Linked DNA regions of Homo sapiens: region 2 is linked to region 1. Evidence: promoter capture Hi-C in 16 types of primary human blood cells and fetal thymus (Javierre and others, 2016). All regions are on one chromosome and are shown on one strand. The core of a region is centred on a gene start or on the middle of the fragment in contact, and the rest is flanking DNA. Distances in the headings are between cores, read along the strand shown. Region 1 holds the start of ACVR1 (activin A receptor type 1). Region 2 has its middle 87 kb from the start of UPP2.

Region 1 (4,734 bases), core at 1,156-3,655:
TAATATTCCTTTAAATTCCTCACAGATAACAACAAACTTGCTAGAATTCAAATGATCACTCTCTTCCAAGGTACAAAAGTTGTAAGACTACTATCTAAATCAAGTTTTATTTAAAACCACCCTCTCCATTTCAAGTAAAACTCAACAACACAGCTGGAAAAGGAGGGCATGAACCCAATCTATAATCATCCCAATCCTTAGTCTTTGTCACCTATCCAGAATTTATCTATCCATCATTCACCACCTGTGAGTACCTGCATAAGGGGTAATAGCAGAAATGCTATTATCCAACACCCAGTTACATCAACTTAAGGCCTAGATTTCAGCTTCAAAAGAATTCCATTTTTTAAAATTCCAAGACAGAAAATAAAAACAAGTGAATCATAAAATAAGTGATCGAGGTCCCATCCAGGCATAAGATAACCTCCTGACCCCTATGTCCCCATCAGTGAAATGGATGAGGCCCATATTTCAAACTTAAGCAGTCTGCACACTATGAAGCTGCATGGCGAGGCCGATGTCTGAGGTCAGCACAAGTCTAGTGTCTGCTGGCTGCCCAAGCCTGGGCCCCTGGCCAGCAACCCACCTCCAGAGACAAGTGCCAGGACATACTATAGTGTTTCCATTTAAGGCCCGCCACTTGGATCAGCCCATCTCTGAAATTTCTTAACACCACCTTTCCAGGAAGAATTTTTTTGGGGAAAAGGGAGGTGGTGTCTATTTTTTGCCACCGCCTTCCCTTGGGCTGTCAGAGCAATCTGCATCTCTGGGACAGGATTCTTTAAAACCACTGGGTTATGTCTCAATTCATGGGCCTCTTCTCAAAAATATGTAAAAACATGTATGGAACGGGCCCCTTTGCCCATCATCTAACTCTTATCATACATCCCTCAAAAAAGAAAGAAAAGCCCAATAAAATTGACAAGTCCATTGTATTACCTTGCTGCCTCTCTCCAAAAGCCAAATTCATGACAACTTTTTAACCAAGACTTTTCTTCTGTTACTAAGTGGAACGTTTTCTTCTCTAAGTAGCTTTTCTCCCATGCAAGCAGCGTTCAAATCTCCAGGGGAAAGGAGGGGTGGGGAGGGGGTGGGAGACTATCTGGCACAAACTGGACAGAGCCGAGCCAGTCTAGAACCCGACGGAAGTTACTGAATCCAGCGGCCCCAGAGGCCCACATCTCTTCTTAGTGCGCCCGAGGTTCTAGCCTCACTGTTTTGGTTACAGTGTTGAAGGAAGGGTTTTAAACTTGGCAAAGTACCGTGCAACATCTGTAACCACATTTGCCTTCTGGGGATCGGAAGATGAATCCCACATTCCTGGCTTTGAAGCTTTTTGAAACTGCAGCTAGGAAGAACCGAGGGAGGGAGGGAGTTGAGCAGAGTTTATTGGCTGTCTCTCCAGCAGAAAATTCCTCTTGGAAGAGATGGATATTTTGAGGGTGGGGGAAATTCGCCTATCTATCTCCTTACTCTCTACAAGCTCAGCTAGGAAGGTAAGCCCCGTGGCCCCGCGGCCAGATCGATTTACAAGTCAGAGTCGCACACCCTGAAGGAGTTCACAACACACACACACACACACACGCACTCACACACACCCCAATACAAACCTGAGACCCCCGCTCCACGCCTCTGCCCCCCCACCCCCCATATCCCACCAGCAGTTCAGGCCCAAAGCAAGACAGTTTTGTTCCGCGGCTGCTTCCCCCACGGAGAGGGGATCAAGCTTGGGGGAGAAAGGAATGAAAGCGAGGGGGAGGCACCGCAGACGCCCACCCTGCCACCCCCGATCCCTGCCTCTTCTCCCGCTAGGCTACCTCCTCCCTCAGTCCTCCCGGCTCCAGCAGGCGCGGCCGGCGACCTGCGCTCACCTCGGGTCCCGCCGCGGCCGGGGGCTGAGCCGGGGGAGGCGGAGTGCGAGGCAGCCGGGCGCTGCAGGTCGGCGCGGCGCGGGGCGGCGCGGGGCGGGGCGGGGCGGTGCAGCCGGCGAGGGAGCCCGGAACTCTGCGGGGCCGGGAGCCGGGGGCCGAGGGCCGGCCCAGAGCGGCGGCGGCTGCGGTGGCTGCAGCGGAGCGGTGCGTGGGGCCGGGAGCTTCCCGGCCCTGGGGCCGGCGCGGCTGGCCGAGGAGCAGGCTGGCAGCGGCAGCGGCGGCAGCGGCAGCCACCCGGGGGAAAGAGCCGGGGGAGGGCGGGGAGGCGGGGTGAAGAGGAGGAGGAAGGGGAGGAGGGCGGGCAGAATAAACTTCCCGAGGCGCAGAGGCTCGGGCTGGGAGCACGACCGCGGGCGGGGCGGGCGGACCAGCTGGGCTTGCCCCCGGGGGCGGCGGGGGAGACCGTCACAGAGAGTAGAAAAGTTCCCCCTGCGCCGAGGGGGAGGCTGCGGCGGCGGCGGCGGCTGCAAAGAGCAGGAGCCGGAGCGGGAGGAGCGGGAGGAGGAGGAGGAGGAAGTGGCTGCGGAGCGCTCGGCCAATGAGTGTCTGGAGCTGTGATTAACCAGGCAGCAACACATCATTTCCTCCCGGCGCGGATCCAGGGAGCCGGGAGGGGAGAGAGGAGGCGGCGGGGCGGGGCCGTCCCCGCGCCCCCTGCAGGCGCCCGGCCGAGGGCGAGCCCGCCGAGCCCCGCCGAGCCTGACCGCGCCGCCCCCGGCGCGCCTGGCGCTGTCTGGCCGGTCGCTTGGCCCGGGTGGAAGCTATGAGCGCGCCGCCAGCGGGGCTCCTCGGAGGCGGCGGGGCAGGCCCGAGCTGGGCTCCTGTGGCCGGGGTGGGAGGAGAAGAGGCCGCGCGGCACGGGTGAGTGCCCAGGTAGGCGCGGGCGGGGCCGTCTGGACAGCTCCCGAGGGCGCGCGGGGCAGGCGGGCGGACGGGCGGGCATCCCGGGCCCGGCGACTGCGGGCGGCCACCTACTCGAGCCCTGCATGTCAGACTTGGGCTGGATTCTCAGAGAGAAGCCTTAGCATTCTCATCCAGGCCATCTCTGACCTGCCTTCAGATCCCCTTCCACTTTGCTCATTTCCTTGCAAGGTCTAGGGTTATGACAGAGCTTGCCATGTTCGCCTTTGGCTTCCTTAGTAACAGAAATAAGCATGGAGGGGCTTCTGCAGTGATCTAGCCCTGTCCTAGGCGCCATGGGAGCTTACAGTGGAAATGCAGGAACATTCTCCGCTGCAGAGAGTCTGATAACCTCGGTCCTTAGATACACAAAAACACCCCAGTGTGCTAATATTACCCAGAGCATCAAAAAGGCATGCAAGGATCAAATTTTGCATGGTTCCTGCTGAGTGTAAAGGAAAGCACTAAGCCATTTTCTCTGCCCTCTAGAAGCTTATAATGTACAGTCCTATCACAAAGCAGAATAAAAACATGAAACCTATAAATGGGAATGCCATAAAGTATTTTTATCTCTACAGGTTCATTCATGCAGAGGGCATTTATTGGGTGACTGCAGTACTGCAAAAGGTTGCAAAGGAAATGGAAGATCTGGTCCCTGCAGGTTGGGAGTTTACAATCTAATTAGAAATACAAGGCATATATACGTGAAAAAACTAGAATCCCCAGCTGTAAGCAAAAGGATGGAGTAGGTGGGAGCATTTTTTTCATAAAGAGAGCTTTGTACCTGTATGATTGGTGAGGAGCAGGAGAGGCAAGTTCAGTACCAATCAAGGCAAGAGCACCTATATGTATCCCTGCTCTATAGAATGATGTAACAGGGCCCTCATTGTCACTTGGCTGAAGTGTCAGCTCTGCCACTTACAAACTGTTTTGAACTGGGGCACATTTTTAACCTAAGAAGGGAATACAGGTTGTCTCGTGAGGTGGTTGTGCAGTTCAAATGAGATTACAAACGTGAAAGCTTGTGAAGCTCAATGATGTACATTCATGGAGTCCTCATTGTACAAACTGGCCCTTCTTGGTAACCTTTAGAGTTCCCTCCCAGGCTGTAAGCTGCAAGAGGGCAGGGACCAGGTCTGATTGTATTCATCATGTATCACAATGTTTAGCAGAAGGGTTCATGTGGGTGTTCAATAAAGTTTTGCTGAGTAGGTAAATAAATGAATTAATGAATCCTGTTATGCTCTGAACAGTTCCTATTATTTGTTCCTTAAGCAGTTCCTTCAATAGTGGTCTTATTGTATGGCTGGCTCAGTGAAAAACACTCTAACTCAACCTCCTGTGACTTACTAGTGTGCCAGGAGACTGGGAGAATTCTGGATGGTACTGTCAGAGGCATTCAAACCAGAGAAACTCCATTTTGAATGAGGGCTAGGAAAATGAGACTGAGACTGGCTGGGCTGCATTCTCGGGAAGTTAGGCTTTCTTAGCCTCTAGATGTTTACAGCTAAGGGAACAAATTAATAGTGTTTACTAAACAAACCCAGACTTGGGAGTGTCCAGATATCCCGATATCTGGAGAACAAAGGCATTCCTAATTTTGCTTTAAAGATAATATTGATTCTTGCAAAATATAGTAATTTATTTATTTATCACAAACTCTTGTAGCAGAGCACATCTCCCTATATATACGAGCGATGTACCTAGCATGGAATCGTTCCTCCTCTTACTTTCGGCAACATCCTACTTTGTCTATGGAGTAGGTGTCCTTTCACCACTTTGCTTTCTTAATAAACTGGCTTTTACTTTACACTGCGGACTCGCCCTGAATTCTTTCTTGCGTGAGATCCAAGAACCCTCTCTTGGGGTCTGGATTGGGACCCCTGCCCTAAAACATATTCCT
Region 2 (4,734 bases), core at 1,634-4,133, 140 kb after region 1:
ATATTTAGATTGTTTCGAATTTAAGCTATTGTTATTATTATTTTTTTTTTTGAAATAGATTCTTGCTGTTGCCCAGGCCGGAGTGCAGTGGTGCAATCGTAGCTCCTGGCCTCAAGCAATCCTCCCATCTCAGTCTCCCGAGTAGCTAAAACCACAGGTATTGCCACCAAAACTGGCTAATTTTTTTAAAAAGTTTTATTTTTTGTGGAGATGGAGTCTCACTATGTTGCACAGGCTGGTCTCAAACTCCTGGCTTTAAGTGATCCTCTGACTTCGGCCTCCCAAAGTGCTGGCATTACAGGCATGAGCCATCACACCTGGCCAATAATTCTTTTTCATGAATTTTAATGCACATATCCAACGTGGACATGAGGATGCATTAAAGGGGCATTATAACTCTTACAGCTTTAGGCATATGGGCATCCATTTGTGCTCTTGCCTGGGCTTTACCAATGTTAGGGGTTGGCCTGGCTGCCAAGGCCCAGGTATTTAATTCTAGATGTGGAAAGGCTTGGGGAAGAGGGGATTAGTAAGATGAGAAGACAGCACATCATTTGTGACTTTTTCTCTCTTGCTCTGGTAAAATGTAAACAGAAGCAAAACCTCAGGTTGGGAAGCCAGCAGTGTAATTTGGCAACTCACTCGGAAGAGATGTGTTTGATGAGGAAGAGGTGAGATGATGGATACAGAGTTCCTGCGTGGCAACAGGCACTCAATAAATAGTTATTTTTCCTGAGAAGGAGAAGGGCGAGGCACCTTTACATATCTGGACAAAAACACCTTTAAGCAGCAGTAAAACCTAAAGGAAGAACAGCACACTAGCACATGCAGATGAAGGAAAGAAAGCTTTGTGCGGCTTGCTTGTGTGAACGACAAGCCCAGGGGTTTTGTTTTCTTGTGTTTACGTAGGAAAATCACAGACAGGGACTTCCCAAGAGACTGTTTCTCTTAGCCACTGTCTGCTCCTAACAGTTACAAGAACTGTTCTTCCTCCCACAGCTGTGGCAGAAGCCTGCTTCTGCAGGGTCTCTGATGGGGAAGAACTGAGCTGTTTAGGATTGAACTGCCCACCTACTGTTAAGTAATGTTCTGTCTGTAACACAGGATTTCCACTTAGGAAAATGTGCTGTACATTTGGCTGCAGCATTTACTACGCATCTGCTTTACAAGCCTGTTCTGCAGCTCCAAGGCCTAACTCCAAACTGGCAAATGGTCTCTGAAGACTGCCATCAGAAAGAGCCAGGCCAGAGTTGGGATGGGGCAGGGTTAGCAACTAGTCTACTAGGAGGTCTGGTGGAATCAATTAGGAAAGTTAAGCAGGGGAGCTCATCAGCGGCTGATTGCCTCTCCTAGAACAACCCCAGCTCGCAAATACTCTCCAGAATCATTCAGGGAGCAGTGGGTCTGTAGAACTGGCCCTGCTGCAGTATTAAGCTGGAAGGTAGTAAATTCTTCTTATGGGCTTCCTTGAATCTGAGCTAAAGCCACAATTTCCTTAATAGTTTTCCAATAGCACTCCATCTCTTATTAAAAAGTACAGTTAATCTGGACCTTCCCTCCCACTCCCCTGTAATGTCAGAAAAGAAATGTGTTTCTGAAAATAAATGCTTCTTTTGCTGCGTGGCTATATTTCTTCAGGACTGTGGTTAGCAAATTGCTGCTGCACAACATAAAACCAAGCAATGAAACATAAGACATATGCCTTCTATAATACACTACTGATTAATACAGCTATTCTCTATCAAAAATACAAAAAGAGCCCCACCCAAATAGAGATCATGCCAACTTCCACCACATCTTCTCCCTCCACCCCATAACAAAACACCCAAATCATTCAGTTTCCTAGGGAAATTTGGTTCTAAGCAACTCTTGAATCACAAATTACTTTTGAAAATGATGCTTATATTCCAAAAGAATCCTTAGATTCTATGGTGATAGATTATTTTGCAATGCCTAGCCATTCTGATATGTAGGAAGCAGAAAACTTGGTCCAGCAACAATAAAGAGAATAAAATTACCTGTATTCCTATCCCATAATACATCTTTTGAGCACAATTTAATTAATCTTCATTATGATCATTAGAGAAACTAACAGATTTAAAATTATAATTAAACAAAAACACACAATGTCAAATTTACCATCTTAACCATTTTAAAGTATACAGTTTAGTAGTGTTAAGTATATTCACATTCTTGTTAAACAGATCTCCAGAACTTTTTATCTTGCACAACTAAAACTCTATACCCATTAAACAACAACTTCCCACTCCCCCTTTCCCAGCTCTTGGCAGCCACCACTCTACTTTCTGTTTCTATGAATTTAACTACTTCAGATACCTCATATAAGTGGAATCATACAGTATTGATCTTTTTTTGTGACTGGCTTATTTCACCTAACATGATATCCTCAAGGTTCAACCATGTTACAGCATGTGACATAATTTCCTTCCTTTTTTAGGCTGAATAATAATCCACTGTATGTATATGCCACATTTTGTTTATCTATTCATCTGTTGTTGGATATCTAGATTGCTTCTATTTCCTAGCTATTGTGAATAGTGCTGCTGTGAACATGGATGTGCAAATATCTCTTTGAGACTCTAGTTATATACGGATGTGGTTTTGCTCTGTGTTCCCACCAAATCTCATCTTGAATTGTAATCTCCACGTGTCAGGGGAGGGGCCTGGCGGGAGGTGACTGAATCATGGGGCAGACTTCCCCCTTGCTGTTCTTGTGATAGTGAGCTCTCACAAGATTTGGTTGTTTGAAAGTGTGTGGCACTTACCCCTTTGCTCTCTGTCTCTCTCTCCTGCTCCACCATGGTAAGATGTGCCTGCTTCCCCTTCAACTTCCACCATGATTGTAAGTGTCCTGAGGCCTCCCAGCCATGCTTCCTGTACAGCCTGTGGAACTGTGAGTCAATTAAACCTCTTTTGTTCATAAATTACCCAGTCTCAGGTAGTTCTTTATAGTGGTATGAAAAAGGACTAACGCATATACCCAGAAGTGAAATTGCTGGGTCATATGGTAATTCTATTTTTAATTTTTTGGAGAACCACCACACTATTTTCCATGGCAGTAGCCCCATTTTGTAATGCCACCAACAGTGCACAAGGGCTCCAGTTTCTCCACATCCTCACTAACACTTGTTTAAAAAAAAAAAAACTAACAGATTTTTTTTTTAAATTACTTTTTCTTGATGTCAATTAAGAAAATATTTCTAAATTGTCCCATTTCATTAAGACTGTCTTTTAGTGCCCATTGTGTTTATTGAATACTTTATAGGGATCAAGTTGTCTCATAAAGGGCTCACCTTTCATAGAGGTTTATGGATGACTTATATTAGCAAAAAAAATTCTTGTGAATTAGATGATTTTTTTTTTTGAGACAGAATTTCGCTCATGTTGCCCAGGCTGGAGTGCAATGGTGCTATCTCAGCTCACTGCAACCTCCACCTCCTGGGTTCAAGCGATTCTCCTGCCTCAGCCTCCCAAGTGGCTGGGATTATAGACACCCGCCACCAAACCCAGCTAATTTTTGTATTTTTAGTAGAGACAGGGCTTCACCATGTTGACCAGGCTGGTTTTGAACTCCTGACCTCAAGTGATCTGCCTGCCTCGGCATCTAAAGTGCTGTATTACAGGTGTCAGCCACTGCACCCAGCCCTGGGTCTAGGTTTTGATCACCCTAGACCATCCCGTCTTCCTCTGGAATTTGAACTTGAGATTTGTTCAAGCAACCTTGATGATTGTTAATCCTTTTCTATAATCCTGGAGAGATACGGAGGATTTCTCAATAATTAAGTGTTGAGAGGGCCCTTTTCTGTCCCCACCCCACAAGCAGAATCAGGTGGTTAATGTTTCAGGCACAGGTCAAATCCTCAATTTTTCCCTCTGAACAAAAAAGAAAGCCAAGGAAGAATTGGTGACTTGATTTTGTAACTGCTCATTACAGGGCCATCTATGCTTTTTAGCATGCAGCATCTTAATAAGCCAAGATACTATAGCAGAGGGTCCATAACTAATCTACTGTAATAAATAAAAGGAATGGGAGTGGTACTAGCATATTCTATGGATATAATGTGCAGTTTGCAAAGTGTGACATTTTAAATAAACTTTATTCTTGAGGTATTTAAAAAAACATAAAGGCAGTAATGAAATATAGTGCACAACATTAGTTGACACAGCAATTCCTGCCTCTTAAGACCCTGTTAAATAACCAGAGCTTAAATCTTCATCTTGAAATATACAGCTCTTCTATGATTTTAAGTGAGTTGTAAAACTTTTATGGAGTGTGTCCTAACTTTATTTTAAAAATAGTCTCCACTTTTATAGCAAAGGTGACCCAGAGGTACCTTGTGAATAATAGAACAACATATTTAAGCCATAAATTTACCTTTCTGGGCAATACAGAAGTCATCTTAGTACTTATATCTCTCCTGGAAGGAAGCAGCAGCAAGCAGGAGCAGGGATGCATCTTGAAATGGCTATTTACCCAAAACTTACAGATTTTAACTCTAGAAGTAACTAAGTTTTACCTCAAATGGGCACACTTAACATTTCTGCTACCAAGTTGAAACAAGGATTCAAAAGTTAAAGCTAGGTATTATAGAAACATAAAGTCAAATCTTTGCATAGCTGAGTGTTGAAACTGGGAAAAGTTCATACTCTCAGTATCTGGTTTATGTAGTTATTCGTTTTTGGGCATACAACTCTGTAAGCTGATGTGGGCCT

What was found. The method cuts DNA at HindIII sites, captures the fragments that hold promoters and counts their contacts. A CHiCAGO score of 5 or more calls a contact.
Region 2: a contact is called between a fragment that was not itself captured here and the fragment with the promoter of ACVR1 in region 1, in 1 of 17 cell types (M1 macrophages). The highest score is 5.3, in M1 macrophages.

What each region holds. Positions count from the first base shown.
Region 1 is chr2:157,873,925-157,878,658 of GRCh38, forward strand. It overlaps ACVR1 (activin A receptor type 1), which reads right to left and starts at 2,406. Exons shown (of 11, transcript NM_001111067.4): 1 at 1,872-2,406. It overlaps LOC105373714 (a long non-coding RNA gene), which reads left to right and starts at 2,660. Exons shown (of 2, transcript XR_923518.3): 1 at 2,660-2,792. RefSeq lists silencers at 1,878-2,087, 2,178-2,227, 2,238-2,457, 2,518-2,757, 2,778-2,967 and an enhancer at 2,353-2,647. The HindIII fragment of the contact is 1,597 bases long and covers 1,725-3,321 here.
Region 2 is chr2:158,012,973-158,017,706 of GRCh38, forward strand. It overlaps a transcript of UPP2 not described here. Among named protein-coding and RNA genes, the nearest start is that of UPP2, 87 kb to the right of the region's middle. The HindIII fragment of the contact is 4,079 bases long and covers 845-4,734 here.